Regions from separate parts of the Homo sapiens genome. Here all the other regions are linked to region 3. Evidence: promoter capture Hi-C in 16 types of primary human blood cells and fetal thymus (Javierre and others, 2016). All regions are on one chromosome and are shown on one strand. Each heading gives the region's core, a stretch centred on a gene start or on the middle of the fragment in contact. The rest is flanking DNA. Distances are from core to core; before and after follow the strand shown.

The links. Contacts are between HindIII fragments. The CHiCAGO score rates a contact against its expected background, and 5 or more counts as called.
Region 1: a fragment that was not itself captured here is called in contact with the fragment with the promoter of TPM3 in region 3 in 5 of 17 cell types (M2 macrophages, endothelial precursors, M1 macrophages and 2 more); the score reaches 8.8 in M2 macrophages.
Region 2: a contact is called between a fragment that was not itself captured here and the fragment with the promoter of TPM3 in region 3, in 2 of 17 cell types (naive CD8 T cells and naive CD4 T cells). The highest score is 6.2, in naive CD8 T cells.
Region 4: a contact is called between a fragment that was not itself captured here and the fragment with the promoter of TPM3 in region 3, in 1 of 17 cell types (M2 macrophages). The highest score is 8.9, in M2 macrophages.

Annotation. Positions count from the first base shown.
Region 1 is chr1:154,531,381-154,536,098 of GRCh38, forward strand. The region is part of intron 6 of TDRD10 (tudor domain containing 10); the gene reads left to right. Among named protein-coding and RNA genes, the nearest start is that of UBE2Q1-AS1, 20 kb to the right of the region's middle. The HindIII fragment of the contact is 1,517 bases long and covers 1,909-3,425 here.
Region 2 is chr1:153,816,324-153,820,760 of GRCh38, forward strand. GATAD2B (GATA zinc finger domain containing 2B) reads right to left here. Exons shown (of 11, transcript NM_020699.4): 3 at 3,283-3,412; 4 at 2,468-2,599; 5 at 1,717-1,848; 6 at 1,049-1,219; 7 at 1-265. Among named protein-coding and RNA genes, the nearest start is that of SLC27A3, 43 kb to the left of the region's middle. The HindIII fragment of the contact is 887 bases long and covers 885-1,771 here.
Region 3 is chr1:154,190,241-154,194,870 of GRCh38, forward strand. It overlaps TPM3 (tropomyosin 3), which reads right to left and starts at 1,860. Exons shown (of 10, transcript NM_152263.4): 1 at 1,662-1,860; 2 at 946-1,071. The coding sequence starts at 1,778. MIR190B (microRNA 190b) reads right to left here and starts at 3,503; the gene lies at 3,425-3,503. The HindIII fragment of the contact is 3,875 bases long and covers 997-4,630 here.
Region 4 is chr1:154,476,680-154,481,283 of GRCh38, forward strand. SHE (Src homology 2 domain containing E) reads right to left here. Exons shown (of 6, transcript NM_001010846.3): 6 at 2,802-4,604. Among named protein-coding and RNA genes, the nearest start is that of TDRD10, 23 kb to the right of the region's middle. The HindIII fragment of the contact is 5,610 bases long and covers 1-4,604 here.

The DNA.
Region 1 (4,718 bases), core at 1,417-3,916, 340 kb after region 3:
TTCTTAAAGGCAGCATGTCCAGAGTTTGTTCCTTCTGATGTTCGGATGTGTTCAGAGTTTCTTACTTCTGGTGGGTTCGTGGTCTCGCTGGCTCACGAGTGAAGCTGCAGACCTTCGCAGTGAGTGTTACAGCTTTTAAGGCGGCACATCTGGAGTTGTTCATTCCTCCCAGTGGGTTCGCGGTCTCGCTGGCTTCAGGAGTGAAGCTTCAGACCTTCGGGGTGAGTGTTACAGCTCATAAAGGCAGTGTGGACCCGAAGAGTGAGCAGCACCAAGATTTATTGCAAAGAGCGAAAGAACAAAGCTTCCACAGTGCGTAAGGGGACCCGAGTGGGTTGCCACTGCTGGCTCGGGCAGCCTGCTTTTATTCCCTTATCTGGCCCCACCCACATCCTGCTGATTGGTCCATTTTACAGAGAGCTGATTGGTCTGTTTTGACAGGGTGCTGATTGGTGCGTTTACAATCCCTGAGCTAGACACACAAGTTCTCCACCTCACCACTAGATTAGCTAGATACAGAGTGTCGATTGGTGTATTCACAAACCCTGAGCTAGACACAGAGCGCTGATTGGTGTATTTACAATCCCTTAGCTAGTCATAAAGGTTCTCCAAGTACCCACTAGACTCAGGAACCCAGCTGGCTTCACCCAGTGGATCTCGCACCGGGGCCACAGGTGGAGCTGCCTGCCAGGCGGGTGCTGTGCGCCCACACTCCTCAGCCCTTGGGTGGTTGATAGGACCAGGTGCTGTGGAGCAGGGGGCGTTGCTCATCGGGGAGGCTCAGGCAGCGCAGGAGCCCATGGCGGGGTGGTGGGGAGACTCAGGCATGGCGGGCTGCAGGTCCCAAGCCCTGCCCTGCGGGGAGGCAGCTAAGGCCTGGTGAGAAATCAAGCGCAGCACCAGTGGGCCAGCACTGCTGCGGGACCTGGTGCACCCTCCGCAGCTGCTGGCCTGGGTGCTAAGCCCCTCACTGCCCGGGGCCGCTCTGAGTGCGGCCCGCAAAGCCCACGCCCACCCAGAACTCTAGCTGTCCTGCAAGCACCGCGCGCAGCCCTGGTTCCCACCTGTGCTTCTCCCTCCACACCTGCCTGCAAGCCGAGGGAGCCAGCTCTGGCCTCGGCCAGCCCAGAGAAGGGCTCCCACGGTGCAGCGGCGGGCTGAAGGGCTCCTCAAGCGCGGCCAGAATGGGCGCCGAGGCTGAGGAGGCACCGAGAGCGAGCGAGGGCTGCGAGGGCTGCCAGCACGCTGTCGCCTCTCATTTTTTTCATTCCATGTGAAATTTTCCTGGTTCTTGGTATGATGAGTGAGTTTCACTGGAAACTTGGACATTTTCTTGTTACGTTGCTAGACTAGATTTTGTATACACCTTGTGTTTTAACTGGCTTCCTCTGATGCTGCTCCCACAGGGGAACACGGTACTGCCTCGCTGCTGCCAGGTGAGGATGGAAGTCAGGCTCCCTACTCAGCCTCTAAGGCGGCAGCGAGCCCCTTGTTACTGCCAGTTCTAGTTTGTGGTCTCCACTGACATCTTGGCGTGGATGGCTTCATTACCGCTGAGGAAAGTCTTGACTCTCCACTACACTTCTGACACCCCCCCCAGTAGGGAGAGAGAGGGGGGCTTTCTCTCTGTGAGGTGGGTATGGAAGTCCAGGATTCCCAAGTGGTTTCTATTGACACCCAGGCAGGGTGGTGGTAGGGAGAGACCGGTTTCTTTATTGGGTAGGGGATGAAATTCCTGGCTGCCTGCTTGGCCCTTTGTGACACCATCAGGGTGGGGGTATTGGGCGACTCATCCCAGCCCCATGAGGGCAGAAGTCTGGGCCCTGCATGCTGTCTTTGTTGGCATGCGTGGAGGTGGGATCTCCTTGTTGGTGGCATTTAGCTGGAGTAAAGGAGTTATTATCTACAAGCTTTCTGTCTTCCTAGCCTGTCTCTTCTGGTGCTTTGGCTAGAAAGAGCAGGCTTTTGTTGGGTTTTTTTTTTTTTTTTTTCTGGACCTACTGGTGTTTCTGGGTTGCTGGCCTCTTCAATTCTAAGTTTGGAATATATAAAGCAAAAGGAAAACCCAGAGAAGTCATCACCACGTTGTACCCTGGGTTCCAAGGTCTCTGGTCAGCCTGTTCCCTTCTCTCCATCTTTCAGAGTCTTCTTATGTTTGTTTTACATGTAATGTCCTGGGCTCTTAGTTGTGTTTAACAAAACTAAGATGAAGTATGTATATTTCATCTTCTCAGAGTGGAGGTTCTAAGAATGGTTTTTATTTATTTATATTTTTAGAGCAGGGTCTTGCTCTGTTGCCCAGACTGGAGTGCAGTGGTGTGATCTGAACTTACTGCAGCCTCGAACTCCTGGGCTCAAGCAGTCCTGCCTCAGCCTCGTGAGTAGCTGGGACTACAGGCGTGTACCACCATGCCCAGCTGATTTGGCCTCAAGCAATCCTCCTGCTTTAGCCTCCCAAAGTGCTGGGATTGCAGGGCAGCCACTGTGCCCAGCCATATATATATATATATATATTTTTTTTTAATTTTCTATTGTTTGTAGAGATGGGGTCCCACTATGTTGCCCAAGCTGGTCTTGAACTCCTGGCAAGCAATCCTCGTGTCTCCACTTCCCAAACTGCTGGGATTATAGGCGTGAGACCCCCCAGCCGTATTTTTAAATGGGAAAAAAAATGAAGAATATTTCATGACACATGAAAATTGTATGAAATTCAGTTTGTGTCCATGAAACATTCCTGGCATGCAGCCTCAGCCATTTGTTTACAGATTGCCTGTGGCTGCTTCCTCACTACAGCAGCAGAGTGGACTCATGACAGACAGTAAGGCCCCCAAAATCTAAAATATTTACTATCTGGCCCTTTGCAGAAAAAGTTTGCCAGTTCCTGGGTTAAGATCTAGGCTATTTTTTAAAAAACAAAAATAAACAGGATGAAAATGCCTGGAAATCAATGCAAGAAAGAAACAACCTAATAGAAAAATGGGCAAGAGCTAGGAATAGGCACCTTTTGTAGGTGAAGATGCATAAAAGCCAGGCTGCAACTTTCCCGTTGCTTACCACGAGGTGGCAGTTTCTGACAACACCTGGTGGTTTTCCATAGCCTGCTCCGATCAAGTCAGCCACCTTTGATGCTCCTGGTTTCCATGGCTTTGCCCATCCTGGTAGAACTATCCGCTGAAGGAGTGGGGAGTGGGGAAGCCCCAGATGCTCACTGTTTTCGTACAAAGGTCAGTCGTTGTTGTTATTGTTTTCTTTTTAATAGATGTTTTCAATTTCTTGTATGCTTCAGTCAATTTCCAGAGTCCTGAAGTGATTGTTTTTGACAATTTGTCAAGATTTGTTATTGCTTTTTGGGGAGAGGATTTGTTGATTGAAATATTTTGTAGTGAAATTGTTTTAAAGAAAAGAAAAGGTAAAATTAGAAGATAAGCTTACGTGGCACAACACGCATCCAGGCAGTGTTCAGGTCAGCGTGGGGGAGAGATTATCAAATGATATAAGATAATTTCCCATGGGTGAAGGATGTGAGTTTTCAGATACAAAGCAGCCAATGAGTGCCCAGGATAATGAATGGGAAAATAAAAACCTACATGAAGGCACTTTACAGAAGTATTTTAGAATACTAGGGATAAAGCTTTAGGAAGAGAATCCACATTGAAGGATATGGAATCAGGTGGTGTGATTGAATTCTTCAGGAAAATAATATCCAAGCCCAAACAAGTCAGTCAAGAATAAGGGTAGCACTTTGGGAGGCCGAGGTGGGCGGATCACTTGAAGTCAGGAGTTTGAGACCAGCCTGGCTAACATGGTGAAACTCCATCTCTATTAAAAATACAAAAATTAGCCAAGCGTGGTGGTGCACACCTGTAATTCCAGCTACTCGGGAGGCTGAGGCAGGAGAATCCCTGGAACCTGGGAGGCAGAGGTTGCAGTGAGCTGAGATCATGCCACTGCACTCCAGCCTGGGCATCAGAGTGAGACTCCATCTCAAGAAAAAAAAAAAAAGAGAGAGAGAATATAAGGGTAAGCCATCTGCAGTGGTGTGTACCTGTAATCCCAGTGCTTTGGAATTTGGGATTTGGGAAGCTGAGGTGGGAGGATTGCTTCAGGCCAGGAGTTTGAGAACATCCTGGGCAACCCTGTCGACAAAAAATGTGCCGGGTGTGGTGGCACACACATGTAGTCCCAGCTACTGGTGAGGCTGAGATGGGAGGATCACTTGACCTGAAGGAGTTTGAGGTTGCAGTGAGCTATGATTGTGCCAGCACTCCAGCCTGGGTAACAAAGTAAGACACTGTCACTTTTAAAAAAAGGTTGAAAAAGACTTGCTCAGAAAGATAGGGTCTCAAAAAATGTGTGCCCCATGTACCTGTTCTCAGAAAGCTATGAAGGAGTGTGTTCCAACAAAAATGAATCAGTAAGCCAAAACAAGACGGGATCTGGTATCCAACCCAGATCCAAGAGGAGAGAGATGAGAGGCTTCCCAGATTGGCCAAAGGCAGTCCTGGAACAGTTGCTGTGCAGCAGGCAGTCCAGGGCAGAGCAGGACGGGGTGAGACTCCAGCGGTGACGTTGGCAGGAAGAAAAATGTAAAATTGAGAGGAGCGGTATTATGAAGAGCCACTGGAGGTTATAGGAAAACTTAGCCAAAGATTCAAGGAAATCCAAGTAAATGGACTGGGGAAAAAGCAGCAGTTAATTCCTAAGAAAAGGTTGCAGGC
Region 2 (4,437 bases), core at 78-2,577, 370 kb before region 3:
TGAACTCGCTATTGGCTGCACTAGGCAAGAAATGAAGTAAGGGAGCAGGAGGTTTAGGGGGTGGGATCTCCAGGAGTGTCTTTTCCAGCTGTTTGCGAAGAGCCAATTTGGCTGCAGCCTGTGAGTTGGCAGCATCAGTCATGGCGCTGGGGCTAGGAAGTGGCGAGGACACTCTGTTCACCGTCCCTGGCTGGATATGAGAAGCAAGGTTCATATAGATGGCAGAGGATGTTGTACGCTGACATGGAACAGAAGAACTTGACTGCTGAAATAGATTGAGAATGCGGTCAATCATGGTATGCAGGAGAAAGGGCCAATTCTTACGTTCTTGGCAGAGGACACTGTCTGATCCTGGTTTGGACTACTTAGCTTCTCCAAAAATAGGAGGTGGTCAACTTATTTATTGAAAAAGAACTCTGACACATAGGAAAGGAGAATGATGATGACCATGAGCTAACATTGCTAAGAGAGAAATAAAGGCCACGCGTGGTGGCTCACGCCTATAATCTCAGCACTTTGGGAGGCCGAGGTAGGCAGATCACTTGAGGTGAGGAGTTTGAGACCAGCCTGGCCAACATGGTCAAACTCTGTCTCTACGAAAAATACACAAAATTAGCTGGAAATTCCTTGAACCCAGGAGGCAGAGGTTGCAGTGAGCCAAGATCATGCCACTGCACTCTAGCCTGGGCAACACAGTGAGATTCCAGCTCAAAAAACAAACAAACAAACAAACAAAAAAGAGACAGAAATAAGATTTTGCTTTCTGTCACACATCCTTGTGCTTCTTATTCCCTAGATCACTCTCTTCTAGGCAGATTTTTAGCTTACTGCTGCTCTGCTGTATAACCTCTCTCCTCCACTACTATTTTAATATAATTCCTCAAAGCTTCTACTTTTGGGACTGCTCTCAATTAAATCCCTACCAAAATAACCATTTTTGTCCTAGAGTTTATCTATGTATAAAAACTTAAAACCTATGGCCCTTTCGACAAGCAAAGCAAACAAAGGGATTTCTCTGTTTCCACATTAGGGCTCAGCTCTCTCTTACCGGTTGATAATTGATGGCGGGATTCATGTTGGGTGTTGTGGTGCGTACAAGGCCAGGCTTAGGCGGGCCCCGCTGACCCTGTAGCTGGGCTGGGTTTGGTGCAATAACACGTTGAGACATCAACATGTGTGGAAGGGTGGTATTGGTAGCTGAACGGATGACACTGTGACCCTGGAGGGGAAGAAGAGGAAAAGAACTAATCACAGGTTGTACGCTGTGTATAATACAGCACAAAATGCAAAAGGGAAAACACTGCCTATAATACATAGCTAAGTAGAAACACAGGAACACAGCCAGACTTGGTAATTTCATTTAATGGTCTATGGGATAAATCTACCATCATTGTAAACCCTGATTAGTGGCTGGGAAGTCCTTGGCTTTTTTTGGTATAAACTATCTAATCCTATAGGGTTAGATAGAAAACTATCTACCCCTTCTCTAGAGAAGCTGGAAGCATTCTCTAGACAAGAAAAACTACAGTGGAAACATGAAAGTTACTCATCCTTCTACTGAAGACTAAATCATGCCATAATGGGCCAACAGAACAATCAGTAGTAATAACACCTCTATCATGGCCAGGTTCTTCTATAATCTTCACAAAAGCCCAAAAACAGAGACAGGATTAGACACGGCCCTCCAACACTAAGATCCCACTATGGGTCACATACCTGTAATGTTCTCAAATTTTGAGGTTCAACCCCTTGGGCCCCAGGCCGAGAGGGAAGCTTAGATAGGCCCTGCTGTCCCACATGGGCAGGAGATGGCTGAACAATAGATGCTGCATTCTGTACAACTGGAGTCTGGGAGAGGGAAGAGAAAATAAGACTGTGGCCAATAATCACAGGTGGAAATTTGGTACATTTCTAGACTTTAAAAATTCCTGGTCAGTGTGAGGTTCTTGTCAATCAGGAGGAAAAACCAGAAAAAGGGAGTCAAGGTTTTCTTTTTTTTTTTTTTTTTTGAGACAGAGTCTTGCTCTGTCGCCCAGGCTGGAGTGCAGTGGCCTGATCTCGGCTCACTGCAAGCTCCACCTCCCGGGTTCACGCCATTCTCCTGCCTCAGCCTCCCGAGTAGCTGGGACTACAGGCGCCCGCCACCATGACCGGCTAATTTTTTGTATTTTTAGTAGAGATGGGGTTTCACCATGTTAGCCAGGATGCTCTCGATCTCCTGACCTCGTGATCCACCCGCCTCGGCCTCCCAAAGTGCTGGAGTTACAGGCGTGAGCCACCGCACCTGGCTGGGAGTCAAGGTTTTCTTAAGGCCTAAGATTAAAAAAAAAATCACTACTACTACAGACTAAAAAACTACGGACCCAGAGAAGAAATGAGCCACCCAACTGAACCTACCTGGGGGAACCTACTCTCAAACCAGTTTTTCTTTCCTTTCCCTTAGTCCCTTATTTCTAGGGCACATTACCTTCTGGACCACATTCTCTTTCTGTAGCTGACTCTGTCTCAGTTTCTTTAACAGGACCAGTCGGGCTTCTTCCAATCGTAGCTCATCCCTCAGCTGCTTGATAAGCTGCTGCCGCTCCTCAATGCCTTTCCCCTAAGGAAACAAGAAGACTTTCAGCTATGGCAGCAAGGTACCCAGAATTCCTTCCTGCAAGAGACAATCTTTACTTCTTAGCTCTGAAACCTTCATCTTCCACAAGAAGCAGAAGTGGCAATAGGATTATCTTTGTATCACTGGAGTCTGGCACAGTGCCTGGCATTCAGTAGGTACTCAAAGAAATGCTTACAGAATTAAAGGACAGACCACGTATAAATGCTAATCAGCCAGATTCCTGGCAAAAAGAAGAATGACTAAAGAGAAACATTGTCTTCTTTTAAAATAATGTTCCTAAATCTCTTAAAGCCACATTTCCTCTAGATATACATAAAAACTTAGGAATCCCTTCATATTCAGTTACTTAGGTTAGAGTGCAGAAAGTATCCTTACAGCCAAGAGTTTACTTTATATGACTTAATTATGAACTTTTGTTTTCATTTTCCAAAGATAAATAACACTGAGTATAATGGCCTACATATATGCTTTTCAAACTGTCGTCTCCACTTGCTTCTAATAGTTCCTTTTGAAAGCCCTTGAAGTCAAGAGTTACTATAAAGTTTTCATCAATGGGTATTTATATCCAAAGAGTAAATAGTCAAAAAACAGAACTAAATCTCTTGAGGAATTAAATAAAATAGAAGGAGCATAACAAGAAGAAAGAAATTTTTCTTTCTTTTTACCTTAAACATCTCTAAGTTGGCTGCTTTGAGTCTTTCTTCCATTCTGGAACTGGAACGGGGACTGGAAGCCTCATTGTCAGACAAAACAATGATGTCTGGTGAGGGAGTTAGCCTTCCTCGCTCTGGCTCACTAGACAAGAAAGGGAAAAAATAAGCTATTTCCAACAAAAGTTAAGAAAACTTCTATGCTGAATTAAAAAAATCCAAGGGGGGCCGGGTGCGGTGGCTCACTCCTGTAATCCTAGCACTTTGGGAGACCGAGGCGGGTGGAACACCTGGGGTCAGGAGTTCGAGACCAGCCTGACCGACATGGTGAAACCCCGTCTCTACTAAAAATAAAAAATTAGCTGCGCATGGCGGCGCGCACCTGTAGTCCCAGCTACTCAGGAAGCTGAGGCAGGAGAATCTCTTGAACCTGGGAGGCAGAGGTTGCAGTGAGCCAAGATTGCACCACTGCACTCCAGCCTGGGCAACAGAGCGAGGTTCCCGTCTCAAAAAAAAAAAAAAAAAAGAATAGTCTATCCTGTCAAGAGTAGGTACTGAAGAGTACACAAAAGAAGGAAGTATTAATAATTTGAGGGAATAGTGCCAAGAATATTGTCTACAGCCTTACAGAAAAGGATTAAACCTCCAGAACCAAATATATTGAACTTGCATCTACTTACCAGAGTTTTATCCAGCATCTTACCTCAAAAAGAGTCTAGAAATTACTTTGAAATCTAAATCTCCTGCACTGACTCCTCTTACTCCTAATCCTATTTACTAGATAACTCTCATTTAGGTCATTCTGGGGTTAGCCTTAAAAGCATCATGCTTATTTGTGTAAGATGATAAAAAATGGCACATACTGCTTAAGACCTAGGTAACAAGAATTCCGGAAACTCTAACTGCCTCAGGTTCCCAAATCCGTGACTGTATCTTCTAATTCTCCTCTAATTTCAAAGATACATTCCCAGATCCTACTTTCCTTGAGATTGTCAGCGTAGTTGGTAGTATATAGGTCGAGGGCAATTGTTCTTTGGTCCTTTTTTTTTTCCCTCTTGAGACAGGGTCTCACTCTGTCACCCAGGCTGGAGTCCAGTGGCCCGATCACAGCTCACTGCAGCCTTGACCTCCTGAGCTCAAGCGATCCTCCCACCTCAGCCTCCTGAGTAA
Region 3 (4,630 bases), core at 610-3,109:
CCAAATATGATTTTAAATATTACATGCTCCTTTTTTCCTATTAACTCAGTTCACTGAGAAACTTGTTTCCACCAATACTGGGACATTTCTGTTGTTGTTGGTAAGATTCCTATGGTACTTTTCTTCTAAAAAACTTTTCAATCTACTCTCTCATTTATCTTTGCAGCAAACTTCAAGGTTAAAGATGAAGGAAAGTAGGTGATGATGATGGGATAATATGAGATGGAAAAGAGAATTTATTTTATTTGAGAATGGGAAAATTCAGCCCTAGACAAGCTGAGTAATTACTCACGGTCATAGAGTGAAGTCTGGTGGTGATACCTTTACCCCCTAAGATTCTTTCTTAGTTTCTATTATACTCTGTCACTGTAGGGATCTCTCTGCTGCCCTAGGAGCAATGCTTCATATGGCATCTCCATGGCATAAAGGCAAATGCCTGCATTGGCCAAGATAAATAAACCCATATATGGCCAGGGTCAGTGTGACCTCCATTTCCCATTGTGAAATCCGAGCTGGTTTTGTTGGACAGTTGAGAGATGAGAGGTTCCCTATTAATACACATATCCACATGCCAAGACTTGGACATAAAAGCTAAGAATGTGGCATGGGGGAGGAGGTAGGATAAGTGACAGCATTCTGAACTTAGAGTCCCCTCTCTTTGTCCAGGTCCTGGGAAAGATAATTAAATTCCTGGGTTGGTGATAGGAGATAAATGAGACCTTTACATGTATTAAAAAAAAACTTTTAACATGTTGGAGATGTCTTTAAGAAAGAAAATACATGCCATTATGAGAATATACCAGCATGTGGTTATATGCAAAAATGTATGTGAGTATATATGTCTGTGTTCCATGAACCCACAAGTGTGTTTGGAATTTCGTCATACATTAACATAAAGATCTATATGTGTAGATTAAACCCATCCTCCATCTCTCTAATACTCACATCAGCAGCCTTCTTCTCTGCCAGTTCCAGCTTCTCCTGGGCATCCTTCAAAGCTTCAGAATACTTGTCCAGCTCATCCTCTGTCCCTTTCAGCTTCTTCTGCATGGCTGCCAGCTCATCCTCCAGCTATAGGAGCCCAGAGAGTCACACACAAAAACACACAAACACAACAATGCAGGGTTGGACCCTGGGCTCTTGGAGCCCTGAGTGTAACCTCCATGTTACCATCCCTAGTGAGACACACTTTCTCCCCAGCCACTTCCAGCCCACTGCCTCAGGAGTTATGCCGTAGCTTGGCCTGTGACCCTGTAATCTCTGATCCTAAGATGACCAAGCCATCCTGGGTTTTCATCCAAGACCCCTGGATGATAAATATCTAAAGTGTAGATGCCCGTGATGCTATTTGAGTGAAAAGAGATGCTCTTTCCCTCTAGAACTCTTACCTTTTCCTCTAGAAGTCAAGGGTTCTTCCAAAACATGGTCCATTTCTACTTAAATTCAGCAGACATACTGTGGCTCACTGACTTTCCCAAGGTCACAAAGGCAGTCTGAGACAGATATGTTAGATATCCTCTGCTCCTCCAGTGAGGCTGGGGAGTCCATCCCACCCCCAAAAAGGAGGTGACACCAGTAGTCACTGTCTTTCCCATGAAAACTCCCTTCCATTTCACAGTCTTGTTCACTAGCAGATGAGAGAGATCAATGCCAGTGCCTACCTGTTTACTTCTTTCTTCTGCCTGCTTCTGCTCAGCTTCAGCTTGCTCTGCCCGATCCAGAGCATTCTCCTTGTCTAACTTCAGCATCTGCATCTTTTTCTTGATGGCCTCCATCATGAGCAGTGGCTGTTGGTAGGCTCACCTGTGAACACTGGAGAACTGGAGACTGGGGCAAGAAAGAAGGGGCTGCTGCCTGAGTGACCAGGAGGTCCCCAGACTTGAGTCTTTATCTGTGCTCATAGCTCCACCTTTTGTTCCTAATATGGTCTTTCCAGCTCCCTCCACCCCATCATTGTTCTCCTGGGGGAACACAGGGTGAGACGCTTTGATGAACTGACATCACCAGCAAAAAAAATATCTAGCAACAGCTGAGGCTGATTTTAGACAATGGAAAGTGGGGGAGGGAAGAGGTTCTCCCTGACCCTGAAACTTTCCACTCATTCTGGGCAGCTCTATGGATGTTTTAAAAGAAGAGGAAGAGGGGAGGGAAGAACATTGAAATAGAGAAGTGTACTTTGGCAATTCTAGGTTGGCAGTTTGCATCCAGGGGGTCCTGGTTGCCTTTCAGCTTCCCGTTTCACTCTCCCCCAGACTGTGTTGAATGCTGGTCAAACTCCGTTAGTTGAGTTTTAGCTTTTGATTCCTGGTATTCAAGGAGCTTGGGCACAGGGAAGAGGGGAGGTCACTCATGATCCTTAACAATTCTCCCAGATCCCCAGATCAAATTGCTGTGCTATTCTGGGAGTCTCCGATTGGCAGGGAGACGTTTTTCCTCCCCACCAAGAGCCACAAGAGTAGAGTAAGAGGTAGGGTTGGAATCTCCAACCCTATCCTTGAAGGCTATCCCAGAGCTTCAAGTGGGGTGGGGAGAGAAACAGGGGAGGGTCAGAACAATCCAGACAGGATCATACCCTTTGTTTTCCCACAGTAATCTTAAAATAGAACTGTTGTACCCACACAGACTTTGGTCTGTGTGGCTCTCTCCTCTTCTTCCCTTTATCTTCTCCCTTCTTAATTCTCCCCAACGCTGCCACTCACCACATCATCGTAATCATCATTATCAGCTCTATTCTTTCCAGTTTAGTTCCAGACCATGTTTATTCTTCCATTGGGAGCCTTGTTACTAACAGGTGGCAAGGATACCAGTCCACTGGCACCATACACCTGAAAATATGCCAAGGGAGAGGTGGGCACTGTTCAAGGTGACCAGATATATTGGACAAATATAAATGGCTCTAGTTAGTCATTTATGTCAGGATACTGAGAGTTAATGCTAAGCCCCAGCAATGGGGGAACGGAGACACCCACCAGGCCAGTGGGTAGAGCAGAGCTGGAGTCCACTATTGAGAGCTTCCAGTCACTAGAGGTAGATAGGCAGATAGACCATCAGCTGACTCTCGACAGAGAGAGGAGAAACCAAGTCTCCTTTCTCTGGAGATTAGCCAGGGAAAGGGGTTAGGGAACAGGGAGAGGAAGGAGTGGAAAATGGGGGGGGGGTGGGCAAGTGAATAAGGGGGAGAAAAATACGAGGACAAGAAAAGGCAAAGAAATGTCCCTTCTAGTATAAGGGGACAAGAAATAGAAAGATTCTATCCTCAAATTCCAACTCTCTCCCATTCCCACACCAGCCCTCTTAGGTTAAGATTGAAATGCACATAGGTTGCAGCTACTGGACTTTTGGGGGGGTCCTGGAGAGAAGAGGTTCAGTAAAAGAGACAGGAGCCCCAGAGATTGAAGTATGAAAGAGGGTGGTGCTGAATCACCTGCTGCTGTAAGAATATGTTTGACATTTAGTTGGTTCCTAATTAAACAACCCAATATCAAACATATCACACAGAAGCAGGCAGGAGAGCTTTGGGGGTCATCTGCCTTCCTTCCAGTTGCAAAGAAAGAATAGAGCAGACACCAGGCACCAATCATGTCTAGGTGGAGAGCCATCTCCTTGAGGAAGGGTACTGGCTCCTGCTCTTCACCTCCCAAGACAGCCAGCTCTTGCTTATTGTCCTACGTGTCATCCCTGCCTCAGCTCCTCCTCTACAAGCTCCTGGCCTTTGCTGGATCACGTTGGCCTAAACCAGGAAGAATACCTGGCAGGGCTCCACATCCGGGCAACTATCGTTCCCTAGAGCTCCCACACAGAGCTTCTCACCCTGATGTCACGGCCCCAGCGCCCAGAGGATCAGCCGTGTCAGCAGCTCCTCATCAAAATTGCCACCTGCTCTCTTCAATGCCATTCCAGCTGCCCTGAGGCTTTCCGGGGTGGGGGCAGAGGACTTGTACACCCTGCTTTACCTTTCCAACAGAACTCCTAACCTTCCCAGATCACCCCCACAAGACTACTGAGGTCCGTTCAGGAGGCACCATCCTGGCACCGTCCTGCTCTTAAGTGCTGCAGATGCTTGGCTTCCCCTTTCTGCCAGCTTAACCCTTCTCACCTTCTCCCCATGTCCTCCAGGCATCCTCCTTAAAGTCACCCTTGGATGTCCAGAACAGAAGAATAACTTGTCTCCCTGGCAGGCTCCATCGTGGGCTCCAGAAGAGAAGACTTATAGTTCCCCACCTTGCCTGGCAGAATTGAAACTAAGGCTTTAGACTGAGGGTAAGAGAGGAAACTTCTGCCAGGAAGCAGCCTGCAGTCCACAGGAGTCCTCTCCTCTTCTAGGGCTTTTTACCAGAACTCCAGGCTGCGTTCTCCAAGGGTCTTCCCTCACAGGGATCCAGCCGGATTCCCACATGGGAAATTTCTCTTTTGGAGAGAATCAGGTCTGTTGAATGTCATGTGGCAGGCAGATGCTTCTCTCCACTGTGGCAGAAAAGAGCCCAAGTTATAGCTGCATTGGGGGCTGGGGGGCTTGAGTGGAAGTGTGGGGGTGGGAGGAGGACACTCTGCTTCAGCCCCTAGGCCTGTTCCATGTGTCCTTGTTCCCATTCCAGACACCCACCCCAAACCCCAGCATATACCAACTCCA
Region 4 (4,604 bases), core at 859-3,358, 290 kb after region 3:
AAAAAAAGTAGAATAAAGCAATCTGAAATAATCCACACCTTTTTTATCTTTTAAGTAAAATATGTTTCTTGCCAACAACATGCTGGTTGATAGCTTGATCAACAAATTGGCTTTTATGTGCTCATCAAGTAATAATTTATCTTTCCCTCAATCCAAATTAGTAAACCTGTTTATTTATGCACATAAATTAGAAGGCAATCATTTAAAAATGTCATGTAGAAAGTATTTTAAATTTGAATCAAGACATTACAGTGATTCATACTACATGATTCACAAAGGGGAAGTAATTCTGGTGCTACCTGTGGATTCTGGAAATGATAACCTCATGCCTCACACTGAATCTCCTCAAGGTATGTTTATCAGAGCTTAAATGACCTTCAGGACTTCACACTACCCAGTTCTACAGGCAGAGCCTCTCCCAAGCAGGGGAAAGGCTGCCTAGGCCCATGGACACAACTTGCCAGACCCAGCAGAGGATTGTCCTGGAGGTGGAGATGGATACCGAAAACCCAATTCCTTTTTCCCTTGCTCTGAGTCCATGTGCCCCTCTATGGGTAGAGAGCACATTGATCACACAGGTGACCTGAATGTCCAGTCTGCTAGATGCATTTCCATTGTAAGATAATAGACTGGCATTTTTGTGTGTGTGGTAAGAAATGCATTAACATAAAATTTACCATCTTAACCACCTATTTTAATTTTTTTTATAAGAGATGGGGTTTCACCACGTTGCCCGGGCTGGTCTCGAACTCCTTCGCTCAAGTGATCCGCCTACTTTGGCCTCCCAAAGCCCTGGGATTACAGGCATAAGCCACTACACTTGGCCTATGTTAACCATTTCTAAGTGTGCAGTTCAGCAGTGTTAACTACATTCATATTGTTGTGCACCCAATCTCCAGGACTTTTCATTATCTCATGCAGAAACTCTGGGCTGGGAATGGTGGGTCATGCCTATAATCTCAGCACTTTGGGAGGCCAAGGCTGGTGGATCACATGAGGTCAGGAGTTTGAGACCAGCCTGGCCAACATGGTGAAACCCCGTTTCTACTAACAATACAAAAATTAGCTGGGTGTTGTGGCGCATGCCTGTAGTCCCAGCTACTTGGGAGGCTGAGGCAGGAGAATTGCTGGAACCTGGGAGGTGGAGGTTGCAGTGAGTTGAGATTGCACCACTGCACTCCAGCCTGGGCGACAGAGCAAGACACTGTCTCAAAAAAAAAAAAAAAAAAAGAAAGAAAAGAAAAGAAAACTCTGCACTCATTAAACAACTCCCCATTTCCTCCTTCCCCAGCCCCTGGCAACTACCATTCTACTTTCTATGAATTTGACTACTCTGGGTACCTCATGTAAGTGGAATCATACAGTATTTGTCTTTTTGTGACTGACGGGTTTCACTCAGCGTAATGGTCTGTGTCAGGATTCCCTTCCTTGTTGAGGCTGAATGATACTCTGCTGTATTGCCAGCGTCAGTTATGGGAGTAGCAAGATAATGAAGCACACCCTGCCCAGTGGCTTCCAGAAGTTCCTGGTCTACAAGGTCAAGGAGCCGGAATGAAGCGCTGCTGATGTGCAACAAATTATACTGAGCTGAGATTGCTCACAATGTTTCCTCCAGAACCACAAGGCCACTGTGGAGCGAGCAGCCCCGTGGGCCATCAGTCACCACTCCCAAGGCCAGGCTGTGCAGCGAAGAAAATGAACAGACAACTCAGTCTATGTTTTGTTTTTAAATGAAATCATAAAAAGTGCAAAAAAAAAAAAAAAAAAAACACTCTAGAGTGAGACCTGGGCCGCAATCTGGGCTCTACCACTTACTATGACTGACCCAAGACAAGTTATTTCATCATTCTAAGCACCCGTGTTTTTATCTGAAAAACAAGGTTCCCACCTGGCTGAGTTGTGGCAGATTAAATGAGATGCTGTATGATGAAAAGCATTTGTTCAGCAGCACACCTGGTGCGGAAAAAGAGTCTATTCTCACTACTTACATCTTGGCCTTTCACAGGGTCAGAATCCAACATTCAACACTCAAACCCTGGGTGCTTGTAAACACGTGTTCAATCTGAATTCTGAAAACCATTACTCTAATTGCTCGGGTGGTGGGTGGCGGGAGCATTTCTTAATGCAAACTTCCTCTTCTCTTAAACACAGATGGGTTAAAACAATAGGCACTTGTTCCACCTGGTGGCAACTTACATAAATGTTTAATGGAAGTTAAAAACTTGAAACCATGTTAGGAATTTTGGAGGGGAAAACTTTTTGATAGCAGACTCAACAGTATGCCCTTCTAGGACCTGACGTGAATTTATTTGTGCATTTCCAAATAGGAGCTTCCAACAGGGCTTCTCCACCATTGGCTGTGTATCCAAATCACCTGGTACAATTTTTTTTTAAAATAGGTTTTTGAACTTTGCAACAGACTTAGGGCATCCCACAGATGGCATGGGACATTTGTATTAATAACAAACTGATAAAAACAGAAGCAGAGCCCAAATCTTCTATCTAGTGAGGGATGAGAACCAGTGCACTAACTTTCGACTCAGGAAGAGATGGGCCAGGAAATGGCAGTAAAACATCACTGTATTACTATTTTACTTGGGAAGAAAAACATAATAGAAGGACTCTAAATGTGAACAGAGTAAATAAAAGATAGAATCTGCTGGTTATGTTCCATCATGGTGTTTCTATATTTCATTAATGGTGACTGCAAATGAAACTCTGCTGTAGCTCTTACCATGGGAAGTATTTTTCTGAAGGAAGATGATTCTCAGAGCTAACTGAATTAAGCAAAACCACTGTAGTTTTCTTGGAATAATGTTTATTTAAAGTTACATTTCAGAGGAAACTATCTTCAGGAGGGCATGAAGCCTATATTGGCTACTGCAAAACAACCAGAAGTTTTATAAAATATTTCTGATTTAAATTACTAAGGCACTATAGATAGACACCTATATTACATACAATCTTCAAACATTTTTAAAAGTTGAAACTATGTATTAGTTGATATCTAAAATATTAAAGCCCCTGACAAACTGAACGGCTAAGAACTTGACAAAATGAGACGCCTGTTTCAATGATTCTGTTGCCAGCATATTAATTAAAATACAATTTGAGATTCTAAATTACACGATCCAGCCTTAGTCCAGGGACCTTGTGATGATAGTTGTATTAGACTTCAAAACACCCTTTCCGCAGGAAAGGGCATTTTTCAAGATGGCAACTGCTGTGTCATCATTTTCCCTTTTCTGGACTGTATCAGAAATCCTTCAGAAAGCCCTACCCTTAAATGCACAGCTGCTTTTCCCAACTGCAGTTTTCTCTTTTCCCATTAGATGGCAGTAACGCACCATCTCTCTTCACACAGGGTCAGCGGTGGAGGGTAAGTTGAACAGAAGGCCCACTGCACAGCAGGCCAAGTTTCTCTAGTCCACGTTAGTGGGGCACAAAAATTGGAAATGAGAATACAGAAGAGTGATTCTAACCAGGTCATAAGGCCAAACTAGTGCTAGTTATGGAAAAATAGGAGACAACTAGTGAACGAGAGATCTGTGAAGGGTTTCAGTGCAATCCTGCTGAGTGTCAAGGGGTGCGGGGAAGGGAAATGAAATCGACATCACTGCACTCCCTAAACCCTGGAAGGAGGGAGAAACAAGGGGCTAACCTTTGACTGAAAAAGGGCATCTGACAGAACAGAAACTAACCCCACTTAACCCGCAACTGAAGAATGCCTCACAGTTATTCTTCTGAATATCAAGATGCATCCAGTAACAACAGCCAATAACAGACTAGTAACAGAGTTACATAATCCAATTAACAAATTAGGACAATTTCCCACCACCTGCCTCAAAAACTCCTGGCTGCCCCTATCAGCTACCTGCCCACCTCCCCATCCTGCGGCAGAGGCTAGTACACAAATACCAATTCTGCAAAGTACGGAGACTTCCAACAGCAAAGAATAAAGGCTTTCTAAAATGCTTAAGAAAGTGCTTTGAATAACTTAAAATGACACTTCTGCCCCCAACAGAGAGTAGATATATCAATATTTACCTTTTTGTATACATATTAACACTTCTCCATTATTTTATTCCTAGCTTAAATACACACAAGGCCAGTGGTTTGCAGGCCATCCTGAGATACAACTATGGTATCAAAGTAAATAGCAAGGTCCTTTACTCTCTCTTCTTATAGGCCTGAAACTAACCAACTGAACTTGTCCAGTCATCGCAAGCAAGTATTTTTTTTAAAGAAGGTGTGATCAAGAAGAACACTGACACAGCTCTATGGATGCTAAATTCAAGGCAAATTCACTGAAAGACATTCTTCTCACCAGAGAATATCCTGGGAGATGGAATAACTCGAAGGAATGAGGACTACAGGAAAATACTTGTCTCAAGACAAAATGACAAAAAGCCAGAGCATTCAGAGCTCAGAGAACATGTCACAGAGCTTCAGATCAGCTGGCCATGGAGGTTTAACAAGGAAGCCATTAGGGACACCCTGCTGGGCCTAATTGTTTTTAGAACATATGGAACTTTGTGCCACCACACAGCTGTGAACTCCCTGGCTTTTGTCAGCTTGTGTCACAACCTCAAGAAGAAAATAGC